4 separate regions of the Homo sapiens genome follow, and all the other regions are linked to region 1. Evidence: promoter capture Hi-C in 16 types of primary human blood cells and fetal thymus (Javierre and others, 2016). All regions are on one chromosome and are shown on one strand. The core of a region is centred on a gene start or on the middle of the fragment in contact, and the rest is flanking DNA. Distances in the headings are between cores, read along the strand shown. Region 1 holds the start of BRWD3 (bromodomain and WD repeat domain containing 3). Region 2 has its middle 190 kb from the start of SH3BGRL. Region 3 has its middle 170 kb from the start of SH3BGRL. Region 4 overlaps LOC124905203 (a long non-coding RNA gene).

Region 1 (2,910 bases), core at 103-2,602:
AATGAGTTGTCTAGGTCTCATGTATCTTTTTATATCATTTTGTTGTATCAATTATTCATATTTGTTTTGTCAAGTTCCATGGCAATAACAACCAAAGATAAGCCTATCACTTCACAATTACCTCCTGTGGTTATTGCTTTCTGAGGAAAAAAAAAAATTACAAGTGAGAGCTAATCAACCTAGGCTAAGTTTATGTCAACTTAGAAATTCAAGGCCCACTGTGGTCAGTGGCAGAGCTGAGTGAGGAAACCCAATTCCCAAGAATATAGCCTTAAATTTAGATGAACCTTCAAATTGTAATATTTCAATGTAAATAATACATGCAACTTAAAATGCATTTCTGGTCTCATCAGGTTTAGGTGAGGGAGTGGGGTGGGGACAGGATGTTACGGGAAAGTAGGGAAGAAAAGGACCCGGTTTACTAATCTGTGTCAATTATCATACCAACCCCTTTCATCATTGAAGATTTCAGCAACCAAATACTGAAGGTCAGTGCGGTACCAAGGGTTGGGGTTATATATTAAACAGTGTAGTCCCGAACCTGTAGAAAACTATTGATACCTTGCATAGAGATAGGCAATAATACATAAAGATTATTGAAAACTCTTGGTTAAAGTACTTTAGTAGTATTTGAAAACACAATAGGAAATTACCCTGTAGGAATGGGATGTGTTAGATCCCAGCCGTAGATACGGCACGTGTTAAACTTTCAGAAGGGGAAACATGCTTCACGGCTGATTGCAAATTTCTCATGCAATATTTGTCAGAATCCAGGAGCATTTTAAGTGGTCTTCTAACAATATAAGCCCCGCACTTTGGACTGGTAAGTACAACATTTTCATTTGGTAAATAATAATAATTTTAAACAGAAACAAGTCACGACCAAATAGCGACTCATCCTCCCCCAGGCATAAAACCCTTTAGCCAGCTAGCCGCCTTTCCACGGGGTAGAGTATAAACAGCAAACAAAACCGCTTTGGTACCGGGAGGAAAAAGGGGAAAGGAGTCGAGTCAAAACACCGTCTCTTAAGTTCCTCAAGATCAACCCAGGGGGAAGGGTCCTCCACCGGAAAGGGCCGGATTGCCTTCACAGGAAGGGAAAGTCACTCCGGAGCTCGCAGACGCGAATGCCACCACAGAGTTCCAAGGCGGCTGCCAGAGCGTCGGCCGTCAGTTAGCACCTCCCCCTCCTTCCCAGAGCTGTAGCTAAGCAACCATCGGGCTCCGGGAGAGTCTAGGCTCAGCTGCTGTATTAGTGCCTCTAGCGGGGAACTATGAGCGCTGCAAAACCCTATCACCATTTTTACCCTCCCCTCTCTCCACCCCCTTTGCCCCCGCCCACCTCTTCGCCACTTCGGCTCCTCCCTCTTCTCGCTCCGTCTATCTCTCTCTCTCTCTCTCTCTCCGCCCCCCCACCCCCCGCGTCTCTCTCTCTCTCTCTCTCTCTCTCTCTCTCTCTCTCTCTCTCTTTTTCCTCTCTCTCTCTCTCTCTTCTCTCTCTCTCTCTCACTCACTCACTCTCTCTCTCCCTCTCCCTCTCCTCTCCTTCCTCCTCCGCCTCCTCAGCTCTTGGGCTAGAATATCTATGGGTCGAAACGTGATGCGATGAATTCGAGAGAGAGCGAAACTAGGACGAGGAGTGCGGCGGAAGCGGCGGGACTCCCGGGCATGGGGGCTTCACCACAATAGAGGCAGCGCCCCCACCCGCCCCCGCCAGCCCCTCCGGAGCGAAGCCCCCAAACCCCCTCGGGAAAAGGATGGCGGCAGCACCTACCCAGATCGAAGCCGGTGGGTAGCTGTGTCGGGGGGTGGGGGGGTGCTAAGGGAATGGGGGCTTAGCGCGAAGGCTGTCAGTTTCTTTTGAAAAAGCTTCTATTTCTCTTCTCTACCTCCCTCTGAACCTCTTTTCCCCCCTCTTCCCCAGAGCTGTATTACCTGATCGCTAGGTTCTTGCAGTCTGGACCCTGCAACAAATCCGCTCAGGTAAGGGGAAGAAAGAGATCTGGGAGTCGTGGTGAATGGTCCCAGTGGGGAAATCGAGGCAGCGGGACGAGCAGTTCCGTTGAGGGTGAGGGAAAGGCCGGCCTTGACTAGTCAAACGGTCAGCGGCTGGGCTTTAAGTGTGGAGGGAGGAATGGGTTGATGGCCCGAGCTGCTCCTCATATCTGTGTTTCCCTTTTGCTCAGGTGCTAGTGCAGGAGCTCGAGGAGCATCAGGTACGGAGCCCCTTCGGGAAGGGTGGGGAGGGTTGAGGTGAGACTGGAGGAAGGGGAGGGCAAGTCAGGGGCGGAAGACGGGCTGGGATAGAGGCTTCGATCTGGGTACCCGTAGCTGTTGTCACCGGGGTGAATTGGCTTCTTCCCTCAAAAGGGGCAGACAACGCTGGGGTCTTAACTCGTCCCCGCTTTATGCTTGTGGGAGGCAGTTTTTCAGGATTTCCTTCTCGACCCCCCTTCCCCCCCCCCCCCATATACTTGTCTAGCTCTGAGCCAATAGCTATCAGGCCGAGAGAAATAAAGACGGTAAAGTGTTGAGGACTGGGACACAGGTTGGGTCCAGTTGATGGGGAGCGGAGGCTTTTCCTTCATCATTTGCCTCCGCTTCCCCCTTTCTTTTCGTCCGGCCCCCAGCTGATTCCGCGCCGCTTAGATTGGGAGGGGAAAGAGCACCGAAGAAGCTTCGAGGATCTGGTGAGTAAAGTTTTCATTTCAACTTAACCTAACTCTTTCACCACTCCCTCCCCACCTTGTACCCCCAACCCGCCCCCCACCTCTCAGCCGACGAGGTTCTAGAGCTCGGTGCAGAGCCAAAGAACGACTGCCCCTTCCCCCATCCCTGCTAGTCGGAAAAAGGGTACCTTGCCCTCCCCTTGGCCCTGCTTGTTTCCACCCGAAAACTTTGAAGAATGTG
Region 2 (2,910 bases), core at 180-2,679, 580 kb before region 1:
AAAAGTAGGGAGGTTGTTTTAACTAGTACACCTGGTTATAAACTTAGTGTATAGTTAATTAATTGCAATAATAACTGAAATGATTTACCCTGTTGTTTCTGACTTTTCAACTCCTCCCATTAAAAGATAGTGTCTATTTCCCCACTCCTTGACAATGGGTGGGCGTGGCGATTTGTTTGATTCATTAAATGCAGCATAAGTACCAATTCTGGGCCTAGTACTCAATAAGCTTCTCTTCTGTCTTTCAGAACCCTGGTATCACCATGTGAAGAAGTCTGAGACAGTCTTCTGGATGATAATTGCCATGTGGCTCCAACTGCCCTAGGCAACAGGCAACAAACTACCAGACACGTAAGTAAGGCCCTCCTATACCAGCCATCTCCCAGCTGTTCCACCAGTTGACTGCAGGTGCCTGAACAAGCTTGGATGAAATAAACCAACGCTGATCCAGGAAAACAGAACTATCTAGCTAACATTTTTTTGGGTTATTAATGAAAATACAAGTTTACTGTTTTAAGCAACTGGGTTTTGAGGTGATTTATTTTGTAGAAACAGCTAACTGATACAGCCTAGAACAAGAAATGGCCAGAAGCGTGGATAGCCATAGATGTCTGGGTGGTGTTAAATGTACTCACTGGATCGTTTGAAATCTAGAAATAGCAAGACTGAAATTGGAGACAAGGGGGTCTAGAGTAGCAGTACAGGGATGACCTATGGAATGGGTGAAGGATGAAGTTTGTGACAAACATTAATGTTAAGGAGCTCCTCAATATCTAAGAGAACAGGATAATTTATCCTACGGATATCAGCCAGCCTCTCACCTAAGCTACCCCAGTGCTTTTTTAATGGTACATTGAATAAAGTGGCTATGGTAGCAGAAATAAAAGCTAGGCATGAGTTTCCCCTCACAAAGGTTGATATAGCTACCTCTATGCTGAATGCCCAATCTGCTAGCAGCAGAGACTGACACTGAGCCCTTGATATGTATAATACCATCCAGCCACTTTGTTGCAGGTGAATTAAATTAGTGCTCTTACACCCAGGGTTACTAGTTCTACCACGTATCATATAATCTGAAATCAGCCCGCTTAGTTGAATGGCCTAGCAGAGACCCAGTGTAGGTTCTATTTGGGAACTCACTCTAAAAGGTTGGACCATGATGCTCCAGTATGTAGTATATTCATTAAAACAATAGTTGATATAATATGATTTTGTGTCCGCAGTAGCTGAAATAAATTGTTCCAGGCAACAATGGGATTGCCACCTCTCTCCAACACTTGTAGACTTTGGTTATTCATCCCTAAACCCTTAGACGCTGCCAGATTTGAGACTTTGCTTTCAATGGAGAATGCTTCTACAAAAGGAGAGTGGAAGGATGCCATTGAACATGAAGTTACAACAATCTGCCACTTAATTCTTTTGGATTTTTTATGAAAGGCACCAGAAAGCAGAAAAAAAAACAGTTAATATTACTGGGGAAAACTGACCCAAATCACCTTGTGGAGCTAGGTTTACTGTCACATGATTGAGGTAGAGAGAAATTTTTAGAACCCAAGGATACTGGGGTATTTCTTTGTGCATTCATGCCTCATGATAATGATAAATGAACAAATACAGATATCACAGCCTGGCAAAAGCAAGTCAACCAAGGGCCCAAAGCCCTTTAGGCTGAAATTTTTGGTCATCCCACCAGACAAGCAACCTGTAATAACTACAGTGATGGCTGAGAGTGAGGGAAAAATAAACTGCAGGTAGAAGAGTGAGACAATGAATATCAATATGGACTTTAGACCAGTTGCAACAGCAGGGACAATAGCATATTCCATTAATTGCCTTCATGTATTGTATTTGGTAGAGAAGGCAGTTAGCTACTTCACTAAAAATGTAGTGGAGGAAATAAGAGATTGTGAGTGGTGCAAAGGGCAGACTCTATAAAAGTCATCTTGAGCACTTCCTCACATTGTCTTGCCCTCATATCTGATTTGAGCCATACAGTGCCTAACAGCACTATGTGAGTTTCAATTTCACTTCATGCTGACAGCACCTCATATCCAGCTGTCCTACATATTGCTCAGTTTCTGTTTCAGGGCTTCTCTGACACCACATCATGGAATGACTATGGAATCTCACTCTGCATTCACACATGCTCAGTAGGAAAATTACTAAGGTTTAACACCCAATAGCCCAATCCTCAACTAAATACACATCAGAGGTCAATGGACAGACAATATCCTTTAGGCAAACCATTCTGAGGTGCATTTTATATGTCTCCTCACAAGAGTCCATCCAGACTGAACATCAGTTATCCATAGCAGCAGCAAACATGATTCTGCATAATGATAATGAATTTTTCTTCTGTCATGTTTCAATCTCCCTGGTTCTTCACTACCAGTATCTGAGATAACTTTGCAAACAAACTATGTGCATGCAAAGCTTTTGAATAAGGCTTAGCTTTCAAGGCAATCCACAATAAAACATATGTGTTTTGTTCTGACTGTATTTTTTCCTTTCCTTGTTCCTTCTTGTATCAGGGGAGGGATGAAATTCAGTACTGAAAAAAGAAGTTGCTTTCAGACAATTAAACCTTCTTAGTTTTTTTTTTTTTCCAGAAACCTGAGGTGATTTGGCTTGGAAACAAATAATAGGATGTATGATTTTGAGGAGAGAGAAGCAAGGGCAGCAAATGAGAGTGGAATTTCCCAAAACCAGAAAGGAGATTATCAACTGGAGTTCCACAAGTAGCAGAGGACCTATGCCCTGTTTTGGACCTATGCTCTGTTTTCTCTGAGTGCCTTGGAAAAATGGCATGATCTGGTAGGAGTAAGGATATAATCGAGTGAAAACACCTAGGGAAGCTGAATCTTAGCCACAACAGCTTCCAAACTTGGCAAATAGTCATGCTAAATTTGG
Region 3 (2,910 bases), core at 150-2,649, 560 kb before region 1:
GTCATAACATGCCTAATGAATGGCACTAACACTGTTACCCCCATAGGGCTGACTTAAGACCTAAAAAGATTCAGGGTTATATAGGTAGTGGACTTTTGAGAAACTAGCATGGGAGACTCAAATTCTCATCCCACACCATTTCTGGCTGAAGCCTGAATGCCCTTTTCGGAGCACAGAACCTGTTGTTACACATGGAGAATTTAGGTTTATAAAGGCAGACCCTTCTGGGAGAAAGAACATTGACATAATCACACTCAATTAGAAATGACTTTTATCTGGGCATGAGCTTTTGATTATGGAAAAACTGAATTATTGAGCACCTCAAGTCACAGGATGGAACACATCTCAATTTCTTCATATATAACATGGGAATAATGATAAATATAATAAAATAACAATGACACTGATAATTTATTGAGTCTTCAAGGGGTTCCAATATCATATGAGACCCTTGACTTACACTACCCATTTTTTCCTCACCTTATAAGGTGAGTGAATTATCCTTACAAGGTAGTGAAGTATCTATTGCAATGGTAAAGTCTCTGTTATTTATAACTTTATTACTATTATTATTATTATTAGGTAAAGGATCTAGGATGGGGAAGCTAGAAGTCAAATTGTACCAATTATACAGTCCTGCTGTCATGCTTCCTTGACAGTATGGAGTCAGCTCTCTCTTTTACGTGATATCCTAATCTTTGCCAATATTACATTCAGTTAGAAAAATAAACTACTATAGCTACAGCATTTGCTGCTGAAACCTACCATAACTCTTCCACAAAGGTTCTCACCAGTCTCTCTACACTTTAGTGTAATAGAAAGTACTGTGAATTAAACTAAGTTTATGTTTCTCTCCTCCAGCATTTACAATATGATTTCTCATTACAAATCATCCAGCTTAAATTTCCTGCTCTATCAGAAATATTTATTTATTTATGTTCAGAAATGTTATTTTAAATCAAAATGCTATAAAGTTTCTCAAACATTTGGAAACAGCCAGAGAAATCTTTCTCTTCATATATCCCTGTAGAACACACAAGTCTGTCACTCCCAGCAGTAAACAGTAGCAGCTTGTGTGGACTCTCATCTCTTATTTTACTTTGAGGTGGTCCTATTAAGTAATCAGAAGGGATTTATTCAAAGTATTTTTTAGGTTGGCAAAAAATAAATGCTTCCCCCATCCCAACCTTGAACATGATGATTAATTAATTTGTTAGAATTGTGCTGATGTTTATCGAAAGGATTTATATTAGTAGAATATTTTACCACTTACCAAGTCTTCTCACCTCCCTTTAATTTTCATAAAATTCCTGTGATATAGTTGGGGCAAGTGTTGCTATCCTCATTTTCCAGATGAGGAGATTGAGACTGGGAGAAACAGTGTGTCTTGTCAGGCAGTTAGTGAGTGGCTGAGTTGCAACATTATTAAAACATAAATATTCTCATTATGCATTCTTTGCTCTTTCCAGCTCTCTTTCCACCTGTTTCATTACATGATTCAGTTGTGTAACAGGATTGAAACAGGGATGTCTCTACACACCTACCACAGGAAAAAAAAAATCTCTGGTAGACTATAGAGTCCCTAGAAGACAAATCTTTCTCCCAAGCTCTCCTTCAAGGTAATGCCTCTATAAATGGTACCTTGTATTTACAGCCTCCAGAATTATTGGTCTTTACCTCCTTCATTGGGTCCCTCAATTCTCCACCAACTGCCTTCAGGTTCTGCTCTACTACTCCCTATATTGCACATTCTCTCTGTTTTTTTAATAACCCTGGGAAAAGTATAGGGTAGTTTTTAAGGTAGGGTTGCCAGGATGCCCAGTTAAATTTGGACTTCAGATTAATAATGAAATAATGTTTTAGTATTAGTGTGTCCCAAATATTGCATGAGGACATACTTTATACTAAAATATAATTTGTCGATTATCTGAAATTCAAATTTAACCAAGTATCCTGTATTTTTATTTGATACATCTGGCAACCCTAGTTAAAAGCAGAGGTTCTGATGTCAAAATAACTTCATTTGAATACTCACCCTGATGAGCTGCATAATCTTGGACAAATTTTTAACTTTTCTCAATTTTAATTTCCTCCTGTCTAAAATAGGGGTAATAATATAATAAGGTTGTTGAAATAATTGAGATAATGTGAATAAAGCTCTTAGCAGAGTGCGTACCACATAATAGATACTCCAAATGGTAACTATTATTATCACTGAATGACAATGAATAATAGCAGCACGCTCCCTGCTAAATAGACAGGCATTTAATAGGTAATAAAATTTTCAGTTCATGGGCAAAGCTCATTCAGAAAACTTCACATAGACAGGTCTTCTGAGGGCATGGACACTTTTTTATAGTTGAGCCTTAAAGTATAAGTCCTCAGTGTTTGAAACAGAAATACCTTTCTTTATGAAGCACAATGCACTATCAGTAGTTTTTAAGTTTTAGTTGACATATAAAGCAGGAATAAATGCTCAGGATAATCAATATCCAGCATCCAAAATGTGGTCCTCTCAGATCACTTAATTTGGTCAACAGGTGTCAGGCAATATATAATTCCAAGTCAACCTGCATTTGTATAGTATATCAAGAAGCAAGTGATCTTAAAGAAGCACACAGCAATAAAGATTGAAAACAAAGCAAAAGAGAATCAAGAAAGGTGAGTAAGAGTGAGGAAGGTCCAGTCAAAGTTTGAGGTTCTGGAATAGGTCTTCAGTTACTTAGAAACTGTATGAAAAAAGTAGGGCCCAAGCCTAGGGATACTAGTGATACTGAGCAGGATTTTGAAACGGGAATCTCAATACTGAAGTACATACATGCAGAAATGAGACTCAAAATATTTAACAACTCATAGGGACAGGAAGTACCACAGGTAGTATTGGAGCTGAGTACTAGAGGCTCCATGTTT
Region 4 (2,910 bases), core at 261-2,760, 520 kb before region 1:
TGCTGGCAAGGCTGCATTTTTCTATGTTTTATTTTACCTCTGGCTGAGATATCTATTTTTTAACCGATAAATAAAAATTATATATATTTATGGTATATATGATGATTTCTTAAAGATGAATTTTCGGGTTTGGTTCTGGGTTTTCTGGAAATTTTTCTCTAATCAAATTAAAGACATTACAGACTCTCTTTCAAGTGATAAACAGGGCACTCTGTCCACAGCATGATGTGTCAATAGAGATATGCAAAATTTGACCATTGGATACTTCTAATTAAATACTTATAAAGGCAAGGTTCTGGGTTATCATGCATTTGACAGCTTAGGACATTTTTGTGAAACTAATGCATATAATGATATTGACAGGCTACTGCTAACTACATTGGAGAAAGTAGGACAAGAAAAAAGAAGTTTCATTAAATTTATTTTCCAATTACAGTATGAATGGGGAGATATACATGCTTATGAATATGTATATAGTGACTGATGTAGATAAAGTCTTACATACTTATAGATCTATATTTACTTATTTATTGAGTCATGATTTAAGGTATATTTCTCACTGGAGATCATAACCAAAAAGTTTGAAGGTAATTATTATAATGGGTTGAAAATAAATGACTCAAGTTAAGGCTACTTTACATTATTTCGGACTGTGTGTGTGTGAAGGGTGTAACAAGCTAAAGAACATTTGGGACCTGGAGTTTTCTGACTCCCTCCCTTCTATGTCAAGAATACTGAGCTGAGACTTTATTTCAGGTTAATTTTGAAAAATAATAGCACTGTGTACAACATATCTAACACAGAATAAGTGCTTGTAATGGTAGCAGCCCAAAGGATAAATAGTAAAGTATATTTCAATTATTTTGCCTTATTTATCCATAGATAGTCTCCTGTAGTATCACTTGCCTGATTTAACAATCCAATATAAAATCTGCTTATTAATCAAGTACATTAAAAATGAATCACTAGTTTGTTATATATATGAAGTCCATTGGCATAATTCAGGGAAATATCAGTCTATGACTCTTTGTGTTTGACAAATAGATATGGTATCTGAGTTGAAAAAATATACTTTAAATTATGAATGTATAATATTTACAGTTCCTTTAGGCAGAAACATTTGTTTCTCGAGTGTAATGGCTTTCAAACTGTTCTTTAAAAAGGCTTAGGGGGTCCCAAGAGTTACTTGGTGCTTGAGATGGAGTGGGGGAGAGAACAAATACACACACACACTTATTTCACTCAGAAAAGCTTTACTTAACAAATATTTCATACTGGGCTTATATCATATGTTGTTCAAATAAACAACTCTTTTTGGTGTTTTCTAAGACACTAGTCATAACCAGGGTTGATTAGCACTGAAAACAGAAATGCACGTTTTTCAAGAAAATCTTGAAGTGTGCACTTCATAGTAATTTTCCTGTTACTTCAGAAAATTTCTCTTTCAAGATGACCTTAAAAGACATATAGTAGAAATACCACTGGATTGAGTAAGAAGCACCAGAATTATTCTTCCTTTGCATGTTACAAGTTTTGAGTCCTGGGGTATCATTTGATTTTTCTGTATTTCAGTTTCCTTGTTGGTAAAATGAGATTGTCTAGACTAGATTGAAGTAGCAAATAGGTTTTAACTCCTGTGCCAGATCTAATGATTGGTAGCATCTTCCTAAAGTAATGTGTTCAGAAGAATTCTGAGACTCCATAGGAAAGATCACTATAATCATTTAAACAGTATCTGGCACGGACAAGGGAATAAGTGTGGAAGCTTTTATGTAAGACATTTTGTATCCCTGGGCCAAATGATCTCTTAAATTCCTTTCCAATTCCAAACAATGTAACATAAATATAAAAAAACAAGGAACACATCAAATAAATGTAAAGCACATTAATAAATGACAAAAAACATTCACTACTATAAGAATAGCACCAAGCCTTTCACGAGGAATCCTCCTCCATTTCCCAAACACCTTTCACTAGGCCCCTCCTCCCAACACTGCCACACTGGGGACCAAATTTCAAGGTGTTGTGGTGGGACCAAAGCAATCATCCAAATGCTATCCAAACCAAAGCATTCTTCCCCTCCCCCTCAACTCATATTCTTCTCACATACGTCATTTCATCTCAGTAGTCTCAAAAGTCTTAACTTGTCCCAGCATTAACTCTAAAGTCCAAAATCCAGTCTCATTGAAGACTCAGGCAAGTTCCTTTCAGCTATGAGCCTATAAAATAAAAAGCAAGTTATTTACTTCCAAGATATAATGGTGGGACAGATATTTGGTAGACTTTCCCATTCCAAAAGGGAGAAATAGGCCAAAAAAAAAAAAAAAATAAGCCCCATGTAAATCTGAAACCCAGCAGGGCAGACATGCAGAATTAAATCCTTTTTTTTTTCTTTTTTTGAGACAGAGTCTTGCTCTGTCACCCAGACTGGAGTGCAGTGGCACGATCATGGCTCACTGCAGCCTCAATCTCCTGGACCCTACTGACCCTCCTACCTCAGCATCTTAAGTAGCTAGGATCACAGGTGTGTGCCACCATGCCAGGCTAATTTGTTTTACTTTTCACAGAGACAGGGTCTCCCTATGTTGCCCAGGAAGGTCTTGAACTCCTGGGCGCATGTGACCCTATTGCCTTGGCCTTTCTAACTGCTGGGATTATATTACATCTTAAAGCTCCAGAACAATCTCCTTTGACATCGATGTCCTACATCTTGGGCACACTGGTGTGAGGGGTGGGCTCCCAAGACCCTCGGAAGACCTGCCCACATAGGTTTCCAGGATGTAGCCCACGTGGCTGCTCTCACAAGTTGGAGTTGAATGCCTGTGACTTTTCCTAGCTGGTATTGCACACTGCCTGTGGCTCTACTATTCTGGGGGCCCAGTGGTGGCTCTGCCCCTATGGCTCCACTAG

The links. The method cuts DNA at HindIII sites, captures the fragments that hold promoters and counts their contacts. A CHiCAGO score of 5 or more calls a contact.
Region 2: a fragment that was not itself captured here is called in contact with the fragment with the promoter of BRWD3 in region 1 in 1 of 17 cell types (M1 macrophages); the score reaches 5.1 in M1 macrophages.
Region 3: a fragment that was not itself captured here is called in contact with the fragment with the promoter of BRWD3 in region 1 in 1 of 17 cell types (total CD8 T cells); the score reaches 5.5 in total CD8 T cells.
Region 4: a fragment that was not itself captured here is called in contact with the fragment with the promoter of BRWD3 in region 1 in 1 of 17 cell types (total B cells); the score reaches 5.4 in total B cells.

What each region holds. Positions count from the first base shown.
Region 1 is chrX:80,808,319-80,811,228 of GRCh38, reverse strand. It overlaps BRWD3 (bromodomain and WD repeat domain containing 3), which reads left to right and starts at 1,352. Exons shown (of 41, transcript NM_153252.5): 1 at 1,352-1,788; 2 at 1,925-1,983; 3 at 2,187-2,216; 4 at 2,631-2,690. The coding sequence starts at 1,758. LOC124905202 (a long non-coding RNA gene) reads right to left here and starts at 2,421. Exons shown (of 2, transcript XR_007068278.1): 1 at 1,936-2,421. RefSeq lists an enhancer at 1,038-1,117. The HindIII fragment of the contact is 3,163 bases long and covers 1-1,871 here.
Region 2 is chrX:81,389,545-81,392,454 of GRCh38, reverse strand. No RefSeq gene overlaps it. Among named protein-coding and RNA genes, the nearest start is that of SH3BGRL, 190 kb to the right of the region's middle. The HindIII fragment of the contact is 2,012 bases long and covers 424-2,435 here.
Region 3 is chrX:81,368,720-81,371,629 of GRCh38, reverse strand. No RefSeq gene overlaps it. Among named protein-coding and RNA genes, the nearest start is that of SH3BGRL, 170 kb to the right of the region's middle. The HindIII fragment of the contact is 4,233 bases long and covers 1-2,910 here.
Region 4 is chrX:81,327,909-81,330,818 of GRCh38, reverse strand. It overlaps LOC124905203 (a long non-coding RNA gene), which reads right to left. Exons shown (of 3, transcript XR_007068279.1): 3 at 2,543-2,910. Among named protein-coding and RNA genes, the nearest start is that of SH3BGRL, 130 kb to the right of the region's middle. The HindIII fragment of the contact is 514 bases long and covers 1,254-1,767 here.